2 separate regions of the Homo sapiens genome follow, and region 2 is linked to region 1. The links are contacts of gene promoters, found by promoter capture Hi-C in blood cells and fetal thymus (Javierre and others, 2016). All regions are on one chromosome and are shown on one strand. The core of a region is centred on a gene start or on the middle of the fragment in contact, and the rest is flanking DNA. Distances in the headings are between cores, read along the strand shown. Region 1 holds the start of NUFIP2 (nuclear FMR1 interacting protein 2). Region 2 overlaps ABHD15 (abhydrolase domain containing 15).

Evidence for each region. Contacts are between HindIII fragments. The CHiCAGO score rates a contact against its expected background, and 5 or more counts as called.
Region 2: a fragment that was not itself captured here is called in contact with the fragment with the promoter of NUFIP2 in region 1 in 3 of 17 cell types (megakaryocytes, M0 macrophages and endothelial precursors); the score reaches 7.1 in megakaryocytes.

The regions. Positions count from the first base shown.
Region 1 is chr17:29,291,698-29,297,931 of GRCh38, forward strand. It overlaps NUFIP2 (nuclear FMR1 interacting protein 2), which reads right to left and starts at 2,451. Exons shown (of 4, transcript NM_020772.3): 1 at 2,086-2,451. The coding sequence starts at 2,362. RefSeq lists silencers at 1,120-1,299, 1,930-2,049 and enhancers at 1,756-2,516, 2,210-2,309, 2,620-2,819. The HindIII fragment of the contact is 5,437 bases long and covers 1-4,093 here.
Region 2 is chr17:29,558,166-29,564,399 of GRCh38, forward strand. ABHD15 (abhydrolase domain containing 15) reads right to left here. Exons shown (of 2, transcript NM_198147.3): 2 at 2,382-4,921. The coding sequence ends at 4,396. Among named protein-coding and RNA genes, the nearest start is that of ABHD15, 5.8 kb to the right of the region's middle. The HindIII fragment of the contact is 1,531 bases long and covers 3,290-4,820 here.

The DNA of each region.
Region 1 (6,234 bases), core at 1,201-3,700:
CCTTATGCAGCCATAATATGGTAGTATTTTCTCATCTTTTGAACAAGATCTAATGCTAAAAAATCTAGTTATATAGTCCCTAACAGTTTTTAAACTGTTCCAAATCTTTAGGATTAAAACACCTAACTCGTGCGTATGTGTTCACTTCTATTGCATACTATCGGGTCCCTACGAAGTCCCAAAATGGAAAATCTGACATTCTAATTTCAGTCTTCAAGTTACAATCTGCAATAAAAAAGCACTTAGTATTTCTCCAGCTCTCAACAATTCCTTCTATCAAATTTGATACGCTGGGTTTAACATACGCTTTCTTACGCTTCATTTCTCTTCGATTTATAAAGAGCCCTTATTTTTTAAAATCTGCGTGGGTTATAAACTATTAAACTCACTTCTCGTGAAATACTTTCTTACATGACTTTTACCCTCAATTTCTCGTTTATTAAGATTAGTTTGGGGATCAATATCGATTTTAAAATACGAAAAACACCTTTCTTTTTAACACGGAGAGAAGCCTCATCCGAGGCAAGATGGTAGTAGTCTAACCTCATGGATGAGCCACTTGGGTTCACCCTTAAGGACAAGAAAGAGGGGTCAAAAAGCTCGCACTCTTCCCCATCCTAACATTTTTTAAAATCCCTCACCTCAAAGACACTACCCAAGCTCAGAAGGTAAGTGCTGGGTCGGGAGGGGAATGGAACAAGGTTTTTGGATTTTTTTTTTTTTTTTGTAGAAAATGAGCTGCTAGAAGGAAAAGGCCCAAGTGAAAGCCTCAGAGGCGGAGTCGTGAGCGAACCTGGCAGGAGACGAGGTTCCTGTGGCAGAGAAACTCGTGACCGGGGAGCTGGGTTCCCGCTGGGTACCCCACCCGGCCTCAGGCACCGCCTCTACCCGAAATGAATCCCCCCGCCGCCCCCCCAGGCCTCCTGCCTCTAGGAGCGCCGCGGCCGCCGCCCGCGGCCTCCTTCCCTCTCAGCTCCGCTTCGAGGCCGGCTCCCCGCCCCGACTGCCCGCGCCTCCCGCCGCACCCGGGAGCGGGAAACGCGGCCGCTGGCGCGCGGGGCCCTGCGCAGGCCGCTCCCCTCGTGGCCGCTTCCCTCCCCCACCCCAACCGCCCCCGCCCCTCACCCCAGGGACCCGCCCGGGGCCGCGCGCCGCCACCGGGTTACACAACCCCGGCCGGCGACGGGGGGGGGGGCGGCCGCGGTGCGGGGGGCGCCGGCGCCCCCGCAGTGCAGGGGGCGAGGCTGCGGCCGGTGGTGATCCCGGGTCACCCGGCTCCGCCGCCCCGTGTGGCCCTCGACACCCTTCCCCCTCCGCTCCTCAGTGGGCCGGAGTCGGTGACAGGAATCGGCTTCCAACATGGCGGACAGGAAGCGGCCCCGCGAGGAGGAGAGAACATTCCAGCCGCGCCGGCTCTGGGGGGAGCGGGCGCGGGGCGCCGGCCTCGGGAGGAGCCGCGGGACAAGACTGCGGGGTCCGGCGCCCAAAAAGGGCGTTTAGTGGTGGAAATGACCCGTGAGATGAGGGGTCCCAACAGCCCCCCCCACCGAGACGGGGAGCCCCAAGGCCACAGGTGGGCTTGGGGTGGCGGGTGAGGGGCACTTCCTCAACTCACCCTACCTACCCACTCCTCGCCGCCTGCAAAAGGGTCTCGCGACACCATCCGAGTCGGGATTCGCTAGGCCTTCCTGAGTTACACCTCGAGGGATTTTTTGGGGGGGTAGGTTTACCCCATCTCAGGGCCCCCAAATTGAGGTAACTCCAGGGACGCAGGGAGGTGAATGGGAAAAGAATAATGAGGTTGGACTTGCAAGGCCGACCCAGCAGGTCTCCCTTCAGCCGGGGCCGGGGCCAGGAAGGTCACGCTGGCCTGGCTGGGCCTCTCCCATGCTGGAGGGAAGGAGAGGGCGCTGCAAACCCCATTGCTCAGCCCGAGCTCTAGAATGAAAGGGGCATCCCCAGAGCCGGAGGGGACACACACACACACACCCCGACCCCGTCCGCGCTTTTCGGATCCAGCCCCACCCCCATCTCTCCTGTCCTCCACCCCCAACCCCCTTCCCCCACCCGTCCTCCCTCCCAGACCTGTTTTCTTCTTCGGCGTTTCCTGGTGCTGCTGGAGGGTGTGTTTCTGCTCATGTTTCAGCGGCTTTGGCTGGGCCTTGGGGCTGCCCTCGGCTCCATGCTGCAGGTATTGGTGAGGCTGCTGGTGATGATGGTGGTGGTGGTGGTTGTGGCTGTGGTTGTAGAAATAATAATGGTGGTGGTGGTGCGGCTGCTGCTGCTGCTGCTGAGGGTGATGGTGCGGATGGTGGTGGCTGTGATGGTGCTGAGGCTGTGGCTGGCCGGGCTTCTCCTCCATTGAAAGCGGCTGGGACTCCCTGGCTGAGGCTGCGGGCTGCTGCACCGTCAGGATCTGAGACTGCTTCTCAGGGCTCACTCAGTATATCTGAGCGCGTCTCGCCAGCGCACTGGTTAACCGAGCGATTCTGCGAGATTGGCAGCCGCACTCCAACAATCAGGAGCCACGCTGTGCCGCAAGCCCCGCCCCCAGCTCAAATCCTCTTTCCTTCCCCTTCGCCGCTGCCGCCTGGCCAACGCCACTTACCCTGTGCAACCTCACAGGGCCGGGCCTTCAACGTCAGCACTATGGCTCTCTCTTCTGTCGCTTTCTCTCCTTCACCACGCAGTCTGTGAACAGCACTTTCTACACTCCTCGCCGGCAAGCAGGCTCGTGTCGAGGGTAGCAGATTCCACTGGCGATTCCACTGGTGCTGTGAGCCATCTGCTGGCTTTGCACCTCTTAGAATCTGGTGTTTTTTTGTTTTTTGTTTTGTTTTGTTTTTAATCCTTTTCCGGGTAACCAGAAAGGGAAGCTCAATTCCCTTAACCCCGAGACCACTAAAGGGGCAATACAAAAAGAGGAAATAAATACATTTTTAAGCATACAAGAGCTTCACAATCCAGTAGATCATTTTGTATTCTGGATTCATTTTGCTTTGTATTCATATGCTAATCTCTTCCTTTCCACGAAGGGATTATAGGGTTCCACAATGGGGTATCTGTGTAATTTTCTAAAAGGGCACAAAGGGTTTAAATCATTGTTTCTTTGTAGTTGGAGGCAAGGGAGAGCAGGAGGAATGAAAATTTACACTGAAGGTTTTTTTTTTTTTAATTAAACTCTGCAGGTGAGGTCAACTGTGGAACCAAAATAGGTTTTAGAATGAGAAGTTTCAAGAGCAAAGGAAGGGGAGAAAGAGCACTTAAAAGTTATTAAGTGGGTTTGTTTTTTTTTTTTTTGGCACTTATGGAAAAATTGAAATTAAAAGAAATATTCTGTAGCGTTTTGTAGTGTAGATTTAACTTATCCTGCATTACCACATCACAGTATATGATTTTCAAAAGCAAATGTTAGAGCCATGATAGTGGTTACTCAGGAAGGAAGAGGGTTGTGATGGGGAGGGACACAGGTTACTCTGATAATATTTCATTTTGGGGGCTAGGTGGTGATTACATATATTTGCTTAGTAATTATTTGTTAAACTGAATATACAGATAAAATGCACTTTTCCCAATGTATGTTATAGATTGGGGGATTTTTTTAATTGTAAAATATTCATAATATAAAATTTACCATCTTAATATTAAGTGTATGGTTCAGGTGCATTAGGTACATTCGTATTGTTGTAGAACCATGACCATCATCTATCTCCAGAACTTTTTCATCATTCCAAACTGAAACTTCATACCCAATAAAAATAAATGTCCTTTCCCTCCTCCTTCCATCCCTTGATAACCACTGTTCTGTTTTCTGTCTCTACGAACTTGACTATTCTAGGTACCTCATATAAGTGGGATTGTACTGTATTTGTCTTTTTGTGACTAGCTTTTTTGCATAATGTCTTCAGAGTAGCATACATCAGAATTTCCCTCTTTTTTAAGGCTGACTAATATTCCATTATATGTATATACCACATTTTGTTCATTCACTCAGCAACGGACATATGGACTGTTTCCTCAATGTATGTTACGTTTTTGAATTTTTAAAATGTGGCTTGAATTCCTACAACAGGACAACATTAAAGGAACAAGAAGCTTGAAAGCAAAAAGTTTATGCTATGAAATTAATGAATGTCAATGCAAAAGCTTATTTAAAACGTAAAAGCTGGTTTCCAATAACAAATGTCATTGAATCCTGAAAACCATGACCAAATTTTGGCATGTTCTATACAGTAAGGATTTGTGTTGCCTTGTTAAATTTTATTTTATTTTATTTTGAGATGGAGTTTTGTCCTTGTTGCCCAGGCTGGAGTGCAATGGCATGATCTCAGCCCACCGCAACCTCTGCCTCCTGGGTTCAAGCAATTCTCCTGCCTCAGCCTCCTGAGTAGCTGGGATTACAGGCATGCGCCACTGTGCCAGGCTAATTTTGTATTTTTAATAGAGATGGGGTTTCTCCATGTTGGCCAGGCTGGTCTCGAACTCCTGATCTCAGGTGATCTGCCCACCTCAGCCTTCCAAAGTGCTGGGATTCATGAGCCACCAGGCCCAGCCAGCTTTGCTAAATTTTAAAGAAAAACCTCTTTGGGGGTACATTTACCCAATTTTGAGAATGAAAACCCTAATAATAATATCATATCACAATAAGTCTTTACCACTGAATAATATTCTGCCACGTTCCCAATTATTAAAGAAAAAACAGGTCAGGTGTGGTGGCTCACACCTGTAATCCCAACGCTTTGGGAGACCATGGCAGATCAGTTGACCCAGCAGTTCGAGACCAGCCTGGGCAACATACAGAGACTCTCTCTCTACAAAAATTTTTAAAAATTAGCCTGGCATGGTGGTGTGTGCCTGTAGTTGGGAGGCTGAGATGGGAGGATGACTTGAGCCCTCCAGGTGGAGGCTGCAGTGAGCTGTGATTGTGCCACTGTACTCCAGTCTGGGCAACAGAGCGAGATCCTGTCTCAAAAAAAAAAAAAGAAGAAGAAAGAAAGAAAAGTATATATACAATTTAAGATTATGTTGGTATTTTTTGTTGACTTAGACATTCAGTTGGAAGGCTTGAATTTCTGAGTTCCAACTTCCCTGTCTAGGTTTTCTACATTATACCTGCAGGCAAACCAAAAGCACTCATTCTGTATTTCTGATTTATCACACTTTTGCCTACCTTTAGCTTTTCACTTACAGTTGTACTGACTGAGTTTAATAAACTAAATCTTATTCTCAGATGCTCTAGTTACTATGAATGTTGCCTTAGTAGTATGCAGTAGTATGAAGAAAGGCTTATGATATAATGTAAGAAAAAAAGCAGAATATTACATTCTTGTATACATTAGAATCATAATCTTGAACACGAATTTTAAAAATAAGAATGGAAATACAACAGTAAAACACAGACCTTTTTTCTTCTTGATTTTTCTGAAGTTGTTTTATATAAAATATAATTGGGATTTGCCAAGAATGTGAAATATTCCATTATAATAATGCCCTTAGCCGGGCGTGGTGGCACACTCCTGTAAACCCAGCACTTTGGGAGGCCAAGGCAGGCGGATCACGAGGTCAGGAGATCGAGACCGTCCTGGCCAACATGGTGAAACCCCGTCTCTACTAAAAATACAAAAATTAGCTGGGCACGGTGGCACATGCCTGTAATCCCAGCTACTCGGGAGGCTGAGGCAGGAGAATCACTTGAACCAGGGAGTCGTCGGAGGTTGCAGTGAGCCGAGATTGTGCCACTGCACTCCAGCCTGGAGACAGAGCAAGACTCCGTCTCAAAATAATAATAATAGTAATAATGCCCTAATACTAAACTTTTGGTGAGAAGAAAATAACTGGGTCTACTTATTTCAAGCATGTTTTTATAAAACGGAATCTGCATTAACGAAGAAAACACAAGAAGGGAATATAGCATAAGTCTGATGAAATTATAGGTGCTTCTTTTTTTCTTTTCTCTGTTTTCCAAATGTTCTGTAGTAGTTGTTACTTTTCATATACATTTTTTTTTTTTCTTTTTTGAGACGGGCCTCACTGTGTTGCCCAAGCTGGAGTGCAGTGGTGCCATCATGGCTCGCTGCAGCCTTGACCTTCCTAGCTCAGGTGATCCTCCCACCTCAGCCTCCCAAGCTGGGACTACAGGCACATGGCACCATGCCTGGATGATTTTGGGGTGTTTTTTTGTTCTGTTTTTTGTTTTTTTGTTTTGTTTTGTTTTGTTTTTGAGACACAGTCACG
Region 2 (6,234 bases), core at 2,805-5,304, 270 kb after region 1:
CCAGGCTGGTCTCAAACTCCTGGACTCAAGCGATCCACCCACCTCAGTCTCCCAAAGTGCTAGGATTACAGGTGTGAGCCACCATGCCTGGCCAAGGCCTCCTTCCTTCCTTCCTTCCCTCCCTCCTTCCTTCCATCCTTCCTTCCTTCCCTTCTTTCTTTTTCTTTCTTTCTCTTTCTTTCCTTCCTTCCTTCCTTTCTTTCTTTTTCTTTCTTTCTTTTTCTTTCTTTCTTCTTTTTTTCCTTTCTTCTTTCTTTCTTCTTTCTTTTTCTTTCTCTTTATTTCCTTTCTTTTTTTCTTTTTTTTGAGACGGAGTTTTGCTCTTCTTGCCCAGGCTGGAGTACAATGGCGCAATCTTGGCTCACCGAAACCTCCACCTCCCGAGTTCAAGTGATTCTCCTGCCTCAGCCTCCCAAGTAGCTGGGATTAGAGGCATGCACCACCACACCTGGCTAATTTTGTGTTTTTAGTAGAGACGGGGTTTCTCCATGGTGGTCAGGCTGGTCTCGAACTCCCAACCTCAGGTGATCCACACGGCTCGGCCTCCCAAAGTGTTGGAATTACAGGCGTGAGCCACTGCGCCCGGCCAAGACCTATTTTCTATCAGTATCCAAGTCTTAGGATATCGTCACTCAAAACAGAGATGATGTCTTCTCAGAGAATTTAGTGCTGTATTTTTCATACTGTCATCTCCAGCCAAGCCACCCTGGAAATCTATGTATAAATACATAAAATACTAAATTATGAGAATTAAGTTATAGCTTAGCACAATCTTGATATCAGAGATCAGAACTTAGAACTCACAGAAAATTTCAGAAGCAGTTGTCTGCTTTCTGCATTCTGATCCATGGCTAGAGACAGAGGACTCAATTGCCACTTCTGAATTAATGCCTCCCTTTAGTCATTGGCTTTTTGTTTTTGCTTTATTGTTTTCATTATGATTTTGAGACAGGGTCTTGCTCTGTTGCCCAGGATGGAGTGCAGTGGCGCAGTCTCGGTCCACTGCAGCCTCTGCTTCCCAGGCTCATGCGATTCTCTCACCTCAATCTCCCAAGTAGCTGGGACTACAGGCGTGTGCCACCACACTCAGATGGAATTTCACCATGTTGGCTAGGCTGGTCCTGAACTCCTGGACTGAAATGATCTGCCTGCCTCGGCCTCCCAAAGTGCTGGGATTACTGCACTTTGCAGTGAGTCACTGCACCTGGCTCGTTTCCTTATTTGTATTCATTTTTTTATCTTACCATTTGAAGGTGTTGGTAAATAACGGACACCAAAAAGGAGGCAAGCAAGTAATGAGGCCTGAAGATTACTGAAGACCCACCACCTGGAAAGTCCAACTCAGTGGTTCTTAGGTGTTCGGGAGGGGCTCACTGAAGTCTCGACCTCCAGGGCTGAAGCAGTGCTACCGCCTCAGTCTCCCGAGTGGCTGGGACTACAGGGTGCACCACCATGCCTAGCTAATTTAATTTTTTGTAGAGATGGGGTTTTGCTATGTTGGCCAGACTAGTCTCGATCTCTTGGCCTCAAGTGATCCTCCCACCTCAGTCTCTCAAAGTGCTGGTATTGCAGGTGAGAGCCACTGTGCCCCGCCTATTGTTTGGTTTTGTTGTTTGTTTCTTGCTTCCTCAAACTCATAACTTGCCATTTTGTTCAAGGGCCACCCATTCACAGAACAGTGTGCCTGGGGCTCCTCCAGCTGGCTTCACACAATTAGCTATTTACCAAAGCAGAATTCACCTGTGTGATTCTTGAATCATTAGGCTAAAGGACAGGGCCATCCAAATCTTTCCTGCTTGAACAGAAATTACACTTTCTCAGCACAAAACAGGCATTTCAGCCCTAGTCTTCAAGTAGTAATGGGAAAATCAGAGAATGTTCTTGGGATATGCAGTGGGTGCATCTGGCACAAGGGCCACGGAAGAGAAATACTTTAGGGTTCGGGTCACTAGAGTTCAGGGTTCAAAGGAATTAATGGAACGTGAACTGGGGCTGATTCTGCCATTCTTCTGACTGTAACTACAAAGTTTATACATTTCTCTCCCTGGAAAACTTTCTTTCCTATCAAAAGGGAAAGGAAAACCAACCACTATTTCTCCAAAAGCTATTCTCTTGAAGAACCAGAATCTTGCATTATCTGGATAGTTTCTAGAGAAACTATGCAGATTTTCACCCTTAGGGACTCTTTAAGCCTTAGGGTTTAAAAACCACTAGGCTGCTTCCCATTTTGCAGGGCAACTGGGACTACGGGACCCTAATTAACTGAAATCCTCACTGTACCAGATGTGGAGGGCAGCTGGTGGTAGCGGATGGCCAGATGGCAGTAAATCTCCCTCACCAAGGCTTACACCAAGGCTGTTGTTCACCGGCAGTAGAGCAGCTTAATTTCAGTTCCTTTTTATTTATCCTGCTTAGAAACGGCAAAAGAACGTCAGATGAGGAATATGGAGGAGGAGAAACAAGAAGTGGGGAGAAGGGAGATAATTTTTCTTTTCTTTTTTTTTTTTGAAACACAGTCTTACTCTGTCGCCCAGGCTGGAGTGCAGTGGTGCGATCTCAGCTCACTGCAAGCTCCGCCTCCCGGGTTCACGCCATTCTCCTGCCTCAGCCTCCTGAGTAACTGGGATTACAGGCACCCGCTACCACGCCCGGCTAATTTTTTGTATTTTTAGTAGAGATGAGGTTTCACTGTGTTAGCCAGGATGGTCTCGATCTCCTGACCTCGTGATCCACCCACCTCGGCCTCCCAAAGTGCTGAGATTATAGGTGTGTGCCACCGCTCCCAGCCAGGAGGGAGATAATTTTTCACAACAAGATAATGTCCCTTAGATTATCGAGTGCTGTCTACATTTCAGTGCAGATTCTTGGAGTTATTTCAAAGTTTCTTCTGATTTGATCTAGAAGAACAAGATCTAGAATCTGGGGCAAGATTATCCAAACCTGAAATCAAGGCCTCAGGAATACCTTATACCAAGTCTTGGAATGTGGGTTTTCGTATAAGCAGCTCTCTTCTTTACAACAGCTTTGCTGTTTTTGAGGTCAGAACAGGAGCCCTCTTTCTCAATGACGATTAAAATAAAACTTCAGGGCAAAGTTTTTGAATCTTAGCAACACATGGAAACATATGTCCTGTTGCCAAAAAAATTTTAATTGCCTAATCCAAACCAGAATATTTAGATCAACCTGTATACTATATATTATCTCTGATATACTATATCTCTAGTCCTCAGCATTATTCTTCATAAAACCAAATACCCACTTATTTGCTGAGTGGCCAGATCTAAGAGGAAGCTTTTCTGCCTTTACAGGGATGGCCTTTTGAATAATTGAGCAGACGAAGCATTGGAATATGAAATATTTGTAAATCACTGGTCAGCTCTAGTCAACCTCTTGGTGCTTTTGTTTCCTCTGGTCCCAGATGTGTCTCCTGGCTCTGGAAAGGGAGAGGCCAGTAGTAGGATCAGAAAAGGGAGCAACCAACCAGAAAACACCTAAGTTATGAGGTTTGTGCTTTTCCTGACTTAGAGAAAGTCCATATCTCAGGAGATAAACAGTTCTGGCTGCAGCTCTCTGGAGTAATCCCCTGAAATGGTGCCAGAGGGAGCATGTAGGGTAGCCAAGATTCTGACTCCTTGAACCATGGTCTAGCAAAGCCCTCAGATCCTGCATGAGAGCGCTTCCTATTTGTAAAATACCCTTGGGATCTCTCCAGTGAGGCTTGGGGGCCAGATCAGCCCCATTCCTAGCTGAGACTTGCAGAGCTCCTCTGAGAGATTGGAACTTCGCATTCCTTGAGATGGACATTCACATTCTCTACCTGCTCAGCCCTCAGCGAGCCAGCCCCACTGCCTCTGCCGCCCTTCTCACACACACAAGCCTGCTGCCGCAGTTGCCAGAGCATTCGGTCAAAGCAGGGCGCCACAACCACAGAGCAAATGAGGGAAGTGGGGCCGAGACACAAACATCCTGTCCTCATGACATCAAATGGCTCCAGCTTGAGAATCGGGGTCACTGCCCAGTGACATACACAAACGTCTCATCCCTCTAGCCACTGCCAGTAAGAGGGCATTTTCTCCTGAGTCCATGGATTGAAAAAGTGCTATCCTTTGGCTTGTGATGTCAGTGACAGGTGACAGTGACTGGAACGCGCCGCTGCTGACCGGATGAGTAGGGATATGTTGAGCAGAGGCCAGGCAGGAGTTCTGCTGAGGATGAAGTGAGTGCAGGCTCGCAGGACGTTCCTTCTCTTTCAAGGCACCAATTTAAGAGAGAGGGACTGAATGAGGAGCACAGAGCTGGAGCTCCCTCTGTTCAGTCCGCCCCATCTTTCCAGGACTCCCCCTTGCCCAGCTCTGTTTTTCTTTGCAGGACTTGGGGGTTCTCAGGCCAGGTCTTTCACCTTGTGTATGATCGCTTCCAGTTAAAGATCTCCTCCAGGTTGGAAGAGGAAGAGACTTCCCGCCTCTGCAAGGCTCCCCCACGACGACGGCCCCCAAGGAAGGAAGCTCTGTGCCTGCTCAGCCCTTTAATCCTCTCCTCCGTTCGGAAGAACTCAGTCAAGGCCCGGAAGGACTCCAAGATGACCTCATGGCTCCAGGCTGGCAAGGGCTCCTGGCGCAGGAAGCCACAGTGGCCTCCGTGGCGACTGAGCAGGAGGAAGAAGTAGGGGTTGCTGTGGAAGAGTTCAGTTGTCAGAGTGTGGTCTGGGGGTCCACACACGGGGTCGTCAGCACTGCAGATACACAGCACAGGCACGGCTGCCTCATCGACATCCCGGAGCGGGTCGTTGCGGTCCCAGTAGGTATCCCAGCTGATGGGGAAGCTTTTGGTGTGGCAGAAGAGAGCCTCCTCAAACTCTCGAAGGGAACGGCTCCTGAACAGTCTGCTGGTGTCCACAGTGTCCTCCAGGGCTGTGGCATACCTGGCAGCGAGGTGTTTAGTGGGGAAGGTGGGAAAGAGAGGGAAGAATGAGAACATCAGGTGACAGCAGATGAGACAGACAGACAGCCCGCAGGCCAGATCTGTCCACAGAGGCTTTCTTTGGCCATTTAGGGCTTCGAAAACGTTTAATTTCATGGCCATCATTTAAAACCAGATAAGGCTGGTTGTGGTGGCTCACGCCTGTAATCCAAACACTCTGGGAGGCCAACGAGGTGGGTGGATCACTTAAGTCCAGGAGTTTGAGAACAGCCTGGGCAACAGGGCGAAAACCCATCTCTAAAAAAAAAAAAAAAAAAAATTAGCTTGGCATGGTGGCTCAGTCCCAGCTATTCAGGAGGCTGAGGTGGGAGGACTGCTTGAGCCTGGGAGGTCAAGGCTGCAGTGAGCTATGATTGCACCATTGCATTCCAGCCTGGGTGACACAGAGAGACCATTTCAAAAAATAAAATAAAATAATATAAAATAATAAAAGTGGCCAGGCGCGGTGGCTCATGCCTGTAATCCCAGAACTTTGGGAGGCTGAGGCAGGTGGATCACGAGGTCAAGAGATTGAGACCATCCTGGCCAACACGGTGAAACCCCATCTCTACTAAAAATACAAAAATAAGCTGGGCGTGGTGGCGGACACCTGTAGTCCCAGCTACTTGGGAGGCTGAGGCAGGAGAATCACTTGAACCCAGGAGGCAGAGGTTGCAGTGAGCCGAGATCGTGCCACTGCGTTCCAGCCTGCTGACAGAGCGAGACTCCATCTCAAAAAATAAATAAATAAATAAATAAAATAATAAAATTAGAAGATTTCACATAAAATGCAGGTGTCTGGCTTCTCTAGGGAAGTGGGAAGATCCAGCCACATGGGTGGGCATTTCTCAGCACAACAATGGGTTCCTCCCTCCTTCCTGTGTGACGGTGCCCACTAGGCCTGTCATTCACAGCATCACTGCACCTGTCTATGTGCCCTAGGGGCAGCATTTGACTTCACAGCTGCTGACAGTTCTCCTAACCTCAACTTCTGGCCCTCTGTGGAGAACTTGCTATGAACTGTAACCTACTAAACTGCTCCTAGAAGAACTTGCTGCTCAGAGTATCCAAACCAGCAGGTGACACCTCTGCTAATAATTCACATTTGACTTTAGGTTGCATTCATTGTTTTTATTTTTGCTTTTTAAACTAACATCCTGTCCTGGTAATGTCACATGAGTGTGATGTTGATCAGGTATACCTGGGGCAGATATTCCTAGAGAGTGTGCTGCCTGGCAGAGGAAGCAATTGAGTTGGTCATTAATTTACTGGGTG